Regions from separate parts of the Homo sapiens genome. Here region 1 is linked to region 2. Evidence: promoter capture Hi-C in 16 types of primary human blood cells and fetal thymus (Javierre and others, 2016). All regions are on one chromosome and are shown on one strand. The core of a region is centred on a gene start or on the middle of the fragment in contact, and the rest is flanking DNA. Distances in the headings are between cores, read along the strand shown. Region 1 overlaps RIPPLY2-CYB5R4 (RIPPLY2-CYB5R4 readthrough). Region 2 holds the start of MRAP2 (melanocortin 2 receptor accessory protein 2).

Evidence for each region. Contacts are between HindIII fragments. The CHiCAGO score rates a contact against its expected background, and 5 or more counts as called.
Region 1: a contact is called between a fragment that was not itself captured here and the fragment with the promoter of MRAP2 in region 2, in 1 of 17 cell types (erythroblasts). The highest score is 5.1, in erythroblasts.

What each region holds. Positions count from the first base shown.
Region 1 is chr6:83,885,352-83,891,052 of GRCh38, reverse strand. All of the region lies in intron 4 of RIPPLY2-CYB5R4 (RIPPLY2-CYB5R4 readthrough), which reads right to left. All of the region lies in intron 2 of CYB5R4 (cytochrome b5 reductase 4), which reads right to left. Among named protein-coding and RNA genes, the nearest start is that of CYB5R4, 29 kb to the right of the region's middle. The HindIII fragment of the contact is 155 bases long and covers 1,576-1,730 here.
Region 2 is chr6:84,029,776-84,036,102 of GRCh38, reverse strand. MRAP2 (melanocortin 2 receptor accessory protein 2) reads right to left here and starts at 2,331. Exons shown (of 4, transcript NM_138409.4): 1 at 2,220-2,331. The HindIII fragment of the contact is 7,640 bases long and covers 1,400-6,327 here.

The DNA of each region.
Region 1 (5,701 bases), core at 404-2,903, 140 kb after region 2:
GCGGATCGCTTGAACACAGAAGTTTGAGGCTGCAGTGAGCCATGATCATGCCACTGCACTCCAGCCAGAAAAAACAGTGAGGCCCTGTCTCTAAAATAAATAACAGTTATGTTTACGCTATATTGTTGTCTATTAAGTGTGCAATAACATTATGTCTAAGACAATAATGTACATACCTTTATTAAATATACTTTCATAAAAATGCTAATATCATCTGAGCCTTAACTGAGTTAAACGTTTTGCTGGTGAAGTGTCTTGCCTTGATGTTGATGGTTGCTGACTGATCAGCATGTTGGGTGCTTAAGGCTGAGGTGGCGGTGACAATTTCTTAAAATAAGTTGACAGTAAAGTTTGCCCTTCAACTGACTCGACCTTTCATGAGAGATTTATCTGTAGCATGCCATGTTGTCTAACAGCATTTTACTCACAGTAGAACTGCTTCCAAAATTGATGTCAATCCTCTCAAACCCTGCTGTTGTTTTACGAACTAAGTGTATGTAATATTATAAATCCTTTGTTGTCATTTCAACAATGTTCACAGTATCTTCCACCAAGAGTAGATTCCATCTCAAGAACCACTCTCTTTGCTCATCCCTAAGAAGCTACTCTTCATCCATTCAAGTTTTATCACGCAGCAATTTCAGTCACATCTTTGGGTTCCACTTCTAATTCTAGTTTTCTAGCTGTTGTCACATCTACAGTGACTTCCTCCACTCAAGTCTTGAACCCTTCAAAGTTACCCATGAGGGCTGGAATCACCTTCTTCCAAACTCCTGTTAATGTTGATACTTTGTTCTCTCCTCATAATCACAAATGTTCTTAATGGCATCCAGAATGGTGAATCTTTTGCAGAAGATTTTCAATCTACTTTTCCCAGATCCATCAGAGGAATCACTATCTACAGCAGTCATAGCCTTATAAAATGTATTTCTTAAATAATAAAACTTGAAAATCAAGATGGCTCCTGGATTGATGGGCTGCAGGATGGATGCCGTGTTAGAAGGTGATATAGTTTGTATATCTGTCCCAGCCCAAATCTCATGTTGAATTGTAATCCTCAATGCTGGAGGTGGGGCCTGGTGGAAGTTGTCTGGATCATGGGGGCAGATCTCTCATGGCTTGGTGCTGTCTTCATGAGAGTTCTGAAGAATCTGGTCATTTAAAAGTGTGTGGCACCTCCACCCCTCCTCTTTCTTTTTCTTGCTTCTGCTTTTGCTATGTGATGTGCCTGCTCCTGCTTTGCCTTCTGTCATGAGTTAAAGCTCTCTAAGACTTCCCCAAGAAGCTGATGCCAGCACTGTTTCCTGTATAGCTTGCAGAACCATGAGCCAATTAAACCTCTTTTCTTTATATATTACCTAGTCTCAGTCTCAGGTATTTATTTACAGCAATGCAAGAACAGCTTAATAGAGAAGGCATGACGTACAGTGCTATCAGACCTCTTGGGTGACCAGTTGCATTGTCAATGAGTAGTAATTTGAAAAGAAACTTTTTTAAAGAGCAGTAGGTCTCAACATTGAGCTTAAAATATTCAGTAAACCATGCTATAAACACTGAGGTACTGTCATCCAAGCTTTGTTGTCCCATTTATAGAGCACAGGCAGGGCAGACTTAGCATAATTCTCTAGGGCCCTAGGATTCTTGGAATGGTAAATGGACACTGACTTCAAGTCACCAGCTGCATTAGGCCTTAACAAGAGAGTCAGACTGTCAGACTGTCCTTTGAAGCTTTGAAGCCAGGCATCCCCTCTCTAGCTGTGAAATTCCTACGTGGCATCTTTAGCCAATAGAAGACTATTTAATCTACATGGAAAATGTGTTGTTTCGTGTATTCAACTACATCACTGATCTTAGCTAGATCTTCTAGATAACTTGCTGCAGCTTCTACATCAGCATTTGATGCTTCACATTGCACTTTTAAGTTATGAAGGTGGCTTATTTCCTTAAACCTCATGAACCAACCTTTGCTAGTTTCTAACTTTTCTTCCACAGCTTCCTCACCTCTCTCAGCCTTCCTAGAATTGCAGACAGTTAGCATTCTGCTCTAAATCAGTTTTGGCTTAAGAGAATGTTGTGGCTGGTTTAATCTATCCACACCACTAAAGCTTTCTCCATATCACCAATAAGGTTGTTTTGCTTTCTTATATCATTCGTATGCTTACTGGGATAGCACTTTTAATTTCCTTCAATAACTTTTCCTTTGCATTCACAGCTTAGCTAACTGTGTGGCACTAGTGGCATAGCTTTCAGCATTTTTCAGCTTTCAACATGCCTTCCTCACTAAGCTTAATCGTTTCTAGTTTTTTATTTGAAGTGAGAGATATACAACATTTCCTTCACTTGGAACACTCAGAGGCCAATGTAGGGATATTAATTGTCCTAATCTCAATATTGTTGGGTCTCAGGGAATGGAGTGGCCCAAGAAGAAGGTGAGACAGGAATTGTCAGTCAGGGGAGTAGTGAGAACATATACATTTGTCCATTCAGTTTACCATCTCATATGGGCTCGATTTGTGGCACTCCAAAACTATTACAATAGTAACATCAAGATCACAGATCATCATAAGAGATACAATAATAATGAAAAAGTTTGCAAGAACTATCAAAATGTGACACAGAGACATGAAGTGAGCACATGCTCTTGGGAAAATGGTGCCAAAAAGTTGTTAGACACAGAGTTGCCACGAATCTTCAATTTGTAAAAAATCCATTACCTGCAAGGTACAATAAAGTGAAGCACAATAAAACAAGGTATGCCTGTACTCTATTTGTACTATATATGGCTTCTAGAAATAAAATCTCTCATGTGTAAGGTTCTAGCCTTCTATGAGTTCCACCTGGTTTTTAGAAACTAATTTTGAAACCATCTAAATTTTCCAGTGATGCAATTTTATTAAGTTATTCCCACATCTCTAATTGCTCTGGTCTGGCAGATCTGAGCATCCAATTACTCACTAAATATAAATAAATAATAATTATGGGCCAGCAGATATAATCTCAAATTGATACTAGGCTATTAGTGAGTTCTGCAAAACCTAAATCCTAATAATAATTAACAGCAAAAATGGGCTTAAACAGATTCATGAAACACCAATCCTCCATGGTGTAAAACTGGACTGTAAATAAGGACTCCTGGTCACAATCCAACTGGTATTTTTAGATCATTGACATGGGTGCTCTTCAGTGGCAAAGGGGGGATTTAGGGAGAATATCTATCTATCCATCCATCTACCCATCCATCCATCCATCTATCCATTCACCCACCCACCCATCCCCTCCTTTATGCTGATACTTTATTTTTGTGTGTGTTTTGTTTTTTAAACTCTAACCAGGAACAGACCCAAAAAAGGACTGACTGAGAACTGTTCAGAAGAGCCACTTATTAAAACTAAAATACAACGGTTGTATTAGGAAGGTATACTCCAATGTTTAAATAAATCATTTTTAAATGCCCTAGCAATATTAGGGGTACACTGTATAGCTAATTCATCATAGCAGAGAGGCAGCACAATTTAAAACACATATTCAGAACAATAACTACACTGAGTTTCTCTAGGCAATGTACTGGTAGTACCTGTTCTTAATATCTTTTCATACTAAATTACCTCTTTTGTGTTATATCTGGAATTCTGAGCTCTCAAACAAGTTCTCTGAATAAAAATTACCCATTTTAAAATTACCATTTAGTACTTTGTGTTGTCAGAAATGTAAACTTCAAAATCACAGAATGATAGTCTTAAAGACTAGGAGAACTTTAAGGCAATTTTTAGCCTCATCCAGCACAGGCTTTATCTCTATAATATCTTACAGACAAAGCATCATCCAGCATCTGCTTGAACAGATCCAGTGCCTAGTAGCTCACCACTTTTTTAAAAAGCTCAGTTCAAGGATATCATTTTTTTACCTAAAAACGAATATTGCCTTTTTATACAGAAAGAATTCTTTCTCTCTTGAAAGACACTGCCTATAGTTTTTCATTTGTGCATTTTATATTTATTTGTTTTCAATTTAACCCCAATTGCCTCTGATAAAGACTGTGGGCATCCTACAATAAAATATTTAAATTCAAGTTTGTGAAAGTCTGTGTGTAAAAACTTAAAAACCCACAACAAAATGTGTATTAGAAAAGAAAGTATACCAATTGTCTAACCTCACTAACAGCGTTACTGTGAGCATTTAATATAGTCCTGAACTTCCTAGCAGCCAAAGCCAACAGAGGCACTAGTAACAGTGGTCTCATTATCTAATTTTAAAATTTATTAAAAATAAAACAAAGAAGACTTGCTAGCTCATTAGTTCTTTAAAAGGGAGTAACTCTTGATATTGTGAAGAATTATGAGTCCTCATAAAGGGAACACTAACCACATAACAGATATTACAATTTAACAGTACACAGAAACATCCTTACATGGCATTACTCCCATCCACCCTACCCCTAGGTAACCACTAGTCTACCTTCTGTCTCTATAGATTTGCATATTCTGGACATTTCATACAAATGGGATCATACAATATGTGGTCTTTGTGACTAACTTCTTTCAGGTAGTATAGTGCCTTCAAGATGCATCCATAATGTTGCATGTATCAGTATTTTTTCTTTTTAGGGATGGATAATATTTCTTCTATGGATATACCACATTTTATTTATTTATCAGTGGATGAGCATTTGAGCTGGTTCCACTTTGCTATTGTTTAAATATTTGTCCCCTCTAAAGTTCATGTGGAAATATAATCCCCAATGTGGCAGTACTGAATGGTAGGGCCTTTAAGCGATTGGGTCATCAGGGCAGATTCATGAATTAATGGATTAGTGGGTTCATGGGAGTAGGACTGGTGGCTTTATGAAAAGAGGAAGAGAGAACTGAGCTTGCATGCTCAGCCCCCTTACCATGGGATGCCCTATACTGCATTGGGACTCTTGCAGGGAGTCCCCACTAGCAAGAAGGCTCTCACAAGATGTGGCCTGTTGACCTTGGACTTCTCAGCCTCTATAACTGTAAGAAATAAATTCCTTGTCTTTATGAATTTCCCAGTTTCAGGTATTCCGTTATAAGCAGCAGAAAATGAACTAAGGCACAGTTTTTGGCTATCATGAAGAATGTTGCTATTAACATTCATGTACACGTTTTTGTGTGGACTTATATTTTCGTTTCTCTTGAGTATATACAACTAAAAGTAAATTTGGTGGGTCACAGAGTATTCTATATTTAACCTTTTGAGGCACTGCCAGACTGTTTTCCATTCTTACCAGCAATAGTTAGAGGTTCCAATTTCAGAGAGCTCTTTTTTAGTCACTATTCCAACTCTCCACAGAGAAGAAAAGCCATCTATAAAATCTGAATCACATCACAAATAGCTCAGAAGACCGAATTCAGAACTGGATTACAGCATGCTCCAACTTAATCTCACACCCAGCTCTATATGATAGGGTTTGGTTAAAGGTAGTACAATGCAAGATTAAAGCGACATTTTATACCTACTAATCTATCTTCCAGATGAAGTTCCCACAAATTTTCAGGTTAGGTAACCATACATGTGAACCATAACGGCTCACCAATAAGGAGTGAACTGTATCACCATGGTTCAGGCCACACATCCACTAATTAATAATTTTTCATTTCTTCTTTGTTTACTTCTGAAAGTCAGAGAGTCTCAAAATATGGTCTAGGGACTCCTGAGGGAGCTTAAGACCTTTTTGGTG
Region 2 (6,327 bases), core at 1,082-3,581:
AGGCATTATCTGGTAATCTTCCAAATATCATAGCTTGGTATAATAATAGTTCCTTAAATATATTACACAAACATCATAAGAATATTGTTCTTCCAATATTTTTTGTACTCCAAGTAATGAAAACATTTCCCTTGAAAGCTAAAAAGGACAGATGTGATATTCTCTTTATACAATTTGAACTAATTTAATATGTTTGATAAAAGTTATCTATGAACTGTGACTATCAAAAAAGGTCACAGATAAATAATTCAGAGATGAATTCTGATTGGCAAAATACCTCAGCATCTGGGGGCCAACAGAAATGGGGAGGAGGAAGCGAACAGCTTTCCAGAATATGTTGATGACATAATCTGCAAGGTAAAAGAAGATGACCCCCACTGTGACCAGAATGGGGCTAGCTCAGAAGGCTGAAAGGGGGCAGCTAGCGATGGGTATGAACACTCACGCAGAGGCAGCAGGATCAGCAACACAGAACAGGACACATGCATCACCAGCGCGCGCTTCACAAAACAGTACTTTCCCTTGCTCCTGCAATGCACTCTGATATCTTATCTTTCTTTCTCTTGGCTTTCATGTTTTAAAAACTGCTATTTGCAACTCACTAAACTGATCATTAGCCTAATGAGTCACAGCCCACATTTGAAGACAATGGATACAGCATACCCTGATCTATATCCCAGTAGATTGCTAGAAAAGGGAAGGGAGTTGGTTTGGCGTAAGTATTTGTAAATGCTTCCCTAGGTAGTTTTGAGCTATCTTAAAGAATTTGTTCTAGAATGTTGCCAGGATTCAATGTTTCCCTCTTTTAAAAAGTCTCCTGGGTCCATTCTCATCTCTCATACCTGCACAAAGATGACTGTAACCGCTTTCACTACTCTAGGACGTCTGCCATTTGGGTTTTGAACAATCCAGTCCAGTTTCGGGCTTCGAGACCCTCTTTAAAGGGTTTAGGCTGGCCTCACTTTGAAAAGAAAGATACAGACTGGAAGCAACTCTTCCTTTTCCTATCACCTGTTAATATTATCTATTCTTCCATAAACACTGGATGATCTTCCTCATAAGAACGAAACTCCTTGTGGGTACCCCAGCTCACAGTGGCCTCTGGCTTTCCTGACCTTATCCTTGCAGGCCCTCGTCACTCTCCTGCACCTGTTCTTGTCTGTGTACCCCATGCAATGTACCTAAAGGAAACTAGACTCACAGTCCTAGCTTCCAGACCCCTACTCCCCACTATTACTTAACTGGGGCAGTCACCTTGGAAAACGTATTTAATATCGCAATCTAATTTTCTCTACCTGCAAACTGAAAATACTACTGTTTACTTTTGGGGTTTTCGTAAGAATTAATTTATGCATAAGAGTTCCCTTCTCTCGTCTCCCTGGACACATTCCCTCAAGCTTCCTTTGCCTTCAAAACACCAGAGTGTTTCACTGTTGTCAAACTAAATGCAGAGTAGTGGCTGAGATTCTGTGCCATCTAACATGCTGTGGAAACCACAACGCCTCCAAACAGGTTTCTGCAGAGACTACTCTTTGCCTTCCTCAATTAATTACACAGAAAGGATGGGAAAGGCACGGGGCACGGGGCGCGGGGCGGGCGGGGGGAGCGGGGGCGGGTTGCGGGGTGGGGCGGCGGGGAAAGTGTAAAACCCCTATTTCCCTCTAATCAGTAACACGACCTGCGAGCAGGCTCCCCAGTCCAAACAAAATGAATGAGCAACTGTCAAGCCAGGCATCATCTGAGAACCCTGCCCAGTGCATGGAGGCGCGCCCGGGGCCAGGAGCCAGCACATTTCCCCAGCCCAGGGGGGCTCTCTCAGTTGCAGGGCACCAAGGCGGCAGGAGGGCCGCAGCAAGGAAAGTTTTCTCACCAGCGGGAAAGGGTGTGCCTCGGCCGCTGGGGCCCAGCGGAGGGGAGGAAGCCCACCCAAGCCCCGAGCGCCGCCGCTTCCAGGCTTTTCGGACGCCCAGCGGCGTCCACACGCACATCAGCGGGCTGCCGGGAAGGTTTTAAACTTGGTGCTCTCCACGGGGTCCACACTCTTCCCGTGGGCGTCCTCACACCCCAATTCTCCTCCTCCCACCCCATTCTCTAGCCCCTCTAAACTAAAGACTGCCCCCAAACCCAAGCAAGCCCTGCCTTGACCAAAGCTGCACGCGCCCCGCACCCAGCGCCCGGGCTTTGCTCCGCCCTGGGCGCCCTGTCCCGCCCGTGGTTACCGGCTGGCTAGCCCCGGCCCGCGGGCTCGGCCCTGGTTCCGGCTCCTGGCTCCTCCGAGGTGCGCGAGCGCCGCCGCCGCCGCCGCCTCCCACCGCCCAGGGCCGGGCGAGTAGCTCCTAGATCCGAGGTGCGGCGGAGACGCGCGCTCCCGACCCGCAGCGGAGGCGGCGCGGGGCGCCGGAGCAGGGCTGCAGCGCGGGAGCCGCCTCCCCAGCGCGAGAGCCGCCTCCCCAGCGCGAGGCCGCCTTGGCCAAGAGGAGGTGAGCTTTGCAGATCCCTTTCCTGCTCACTTTGCCCCTCCGAGTCCGGGTCAGAGCCTGAGTCAGAGAATTCTTTGCCATCCCGGGCTCTGCAGTGGGTCCCTCGGGTCAACTTTGGGTAACAGGAGGAGCTCATTAGCTGAGCAAGAGGGAGTGGGGTATCATGAATCAAGGCTTATGAAAAATCGGCAGCATTGAGTTCAAGTTCAGTAAGGCCAGAGCCCCCCCATAATGTGCTGCTTAAATTACTACCTCGATTTTAGTTTCTCTTCCTGCCCACTGGTCCAGGTGTCAAAGGGCAGTCAGACGTTCAAACGGGGTCCCAAAGGGCTAGCACTGGGCCGGGAGTAGTTTCAGCATAGCAGGGCTGGCTCATCTCTTCCTCCCTTGAGTCCTTATTGCATGCCAGGCATTGATCTGGGAATACAGGTGCTTGGTGCTTGCATTCTACTAAAGAGACAGGCATAAACATAACAAATAACTAAAATACATAGTATGTGAGATAGTGATGAAGTGCGGTGGACAAAAAAGAAGGGAGGAAATGGGATAATGTTTGGAGGTAGGGGGTGCATTTTTAAATGGGATGGTCAAAGATGGCTTCACAGTGGAGTAAAGATCTAAAGGAGATGAGACAGAAAGAAGTCACGCTGGTATCTGGAGAGAAAGCACTTGCTGTGTGGCAGGCACTGAGATGTTCTTTACTGCACTAGTCATTTCTTTTACTACTCTCCATATGCCATATTAGACAGGTATTGCCACCATTTCCATTTTACTGATGAGAAACTGTAACTTAGGAAGGTTAAAGGAACTGCCCAAGGTCATATGCTAGTCAATAGAGGAGCTTGCCTTCAAGGTCAGGAAGCCTGGTGCCCCAGAACCATAGTTTAACCACCATTATACAGCAGCAGGGGAAATGCAGCACCCATGCAGGCTGGTGGCAGTGTGATGAACTCAAGCTGGTGGTGCCAAAAGAGGATTCCTGGAAATGACATCTCATCACTGATTTTTTTTTAAAAGCTCAGTTTCATTACCACTTGTAAAATGAAATATTTTGAACACCATTTTTCTTCTTCTTCTTTTTTTTAATTTTAAGTTCTGGGATACATGTGCAGAATGTACAGATTTGTTACATAGGTATACATGTGCCAGCGTGGTTTGCTGCATTTATCAACTTGTCATCTAGGTTTTAAGCCCCGCTTGCATTAGGTATTTGTCCTAATGCTCTTCCTCTCCTTGCCGCCCACCCCCGACAGGCCCCGGTGTATGATGTTCCCCTCCCTGTGTCCATGTGTTCTCACTGTTCAACTCCCACTTATGAGTGAGAACATGCTCATTTGGTTTTCTGTTCCTGTGTTAGTTTGCTGAGAATGGTGGTTTCCAGCTTCATCCATGTCCCTGCAAAGGACACAAACTCATCCTTTTTTATGGCTGCATAGTATTCTATGGTGTATGTGTGCCACATTTTCTTTATCCATTCTATCATTGATGGGCATTTGGAGTGAACAGGCAACCTACAGAATGGGAGAAAATTTTTGCAATCTATCCATCTGACAAAGGTCTAATATCCAGAATGTACAAGCAACTTAAACAAATTTACAAGAAGAAAACAACCCCATCAAAAAGTGGGCAAAGGATATGAACAGATACTTCTCAAAAGAAGACATTTATGCAGCCAACAAACATATGGAAAAAAGCTCATCATCACTGGTCATTAGAGAAAACCATCTTTATAGTGTGTGTATGTATCTTCTGCCTCATCCACAAGCAGTTTGATTCTAAATAACATAATTTGACAATCTGTGATAAGATTTATTAATCATTCCCCAAGTGTCCACACCAGTTCCAGTTGCTCATTCCTATTCACAGGGATGTGATTCCTCACCCCTGCAGTAGAGCCTCTGCCAAGTGTCTTCAGGGCATTGTGAAAAAGAGTGACAAAACTGCTGCTTCTGAGGGGCTACGGTGTGAACAGGCCAATTTCTGCCTTAGCTGTCGGCATCAGGTGGCCTTGTTCTGGGCAGAGCATCAATGGCTCCAGACAGAAAACCAGGGCACATTGTACTTTGTGAAAAAGGCAGGTCACTAACCCTTGGTTTCAGAAGCTGAAACTGCAGCATCTGGTGAAACAATGACATCAATAGGATGGCCAAGCCCACATTTCTCTCCTAGATATCTCCACCTCCTCATGGTTGCATTCATTCCTGTCTTCCTTCCTCCACTGTCAGCAAAAATCTTTTGACCTTTCCTTTGTAGGAAAGGTCTTTTCAAACACCACTTGTCCCAAAAAGCCTTCCTCATTGTCTCAGCTACAAACGAACTCTTAATCTAAAATCTGATACCTCTCTTATGGCACCTGACATTTCCTACTTTATTTTAAAATTTAGCCTATACTGTATACCTTAACTCCTCCATAGGCCAAATATTAATTTATATTTAATTTCTCCACAGGTCCTAGCATAATGTCTTCTACCCAGTAGACATTCAATGAGTATATTTTTACTGTTGTTCTTAATAAATTAATCTGCAAGAATACAGCTTCATTGTCTTTTAATTTTGTCTTTTCATTCCAAGATAACTCACAGAAATTTAGTGACAGGACTAAGTTATATGTAGCTATAGCTGTTGTTCATCAATATAAGTTGACAATGGTTTGTCTTGAGGTAAATTCCATTTGCCTTATTTCAAGATTAGAAAACAGAGGCTTTAGAGTAATCTCCCTTAGGTCACAATACTAGTCTTCAAGAGAGCCAGGATTTAAACCCAGCACCGTTTGGCTCCAAAATGAGCTCACCACAAGCTCATACTTCTCTTTCAGTCGTTCATTCAGGAATGCATTCATTTGATCTTTCAACAGATATTTGCAAACATTGACTGTGCTCAGCTCTGTCCTAGACACCAGGAAAATAGCAATGATTAAAACACAGTCCTTGTCCTCAAAATGCTCACAATCCTGTAGAAAGGACAAAGGTAAGGAAATAATAAAAACTTAGTATTATAAACCTTTTAGACTCATGGATGTCCTAGAGGAGCACTTGGTTTAACTTAGGTTATAGGAAGTAGGAGGTGACAGCATGGATTCTCTAAGAAGACAGAATGTAATTTTAATTTTGAAGTTTTTTACAATGCTAATGAAGGAAAGCATATGGTAGACAGAGGAAAGAGCGCTTGCAAAAACACGCGTGGAAGGATACAATGCATTCAGAGAATGGCTTTGCTGATTCAAGAGGGCTGCAGCATGGTGAAAGCAGAGTTGACATGAGGCTGGAAAGGTAAGCAGGGCCAAATCACAAGAGGTGCACAGAGTAGCTTTTATGAAGTTCATCACCCGCTTAATATATATAAAAATCATGGCTGTCTATGTATGTCAACTTTCCAGGGTAGAGAGAGGTTGTCTAACTTTAGTCAAATTCTCAAAAAGGCTGAATGACCCAGGGCTAGGAAGTGGGGGAAGTCACTTTCCTTTCCCACAGCCTTCCATAGGTCCATGGACTTCAGGAAATCCCAAGGAATTGCAACATCAACCAGGATATGCTGGATACCTGGATTGGGGTGGGTGCAAGGCTTGCCCCTGCCAAATCACCTCCAAACATGCAGTGGCACTGACATCCCGGGGCTAGGATGGCTTGACCCTGGTCCTCCCAGCACCTGTGCCCATGTGCCTTCTAAGTGTGGAAGGAAGGGGTTGCTGGGTGGCCAGAAGGCCAAGAGGCAGGGAGGCACCTGAGAATGTGTCCTGGGAAGGTGGCAGAAAGCAGGGCCACAGAGAGCCACGACTCTAAGCCCTAAGCGCGTGCTTCATTGCCTCATCTGACTTCAATTGCTGCGATGGGCTGAATGGTGTCCCCCA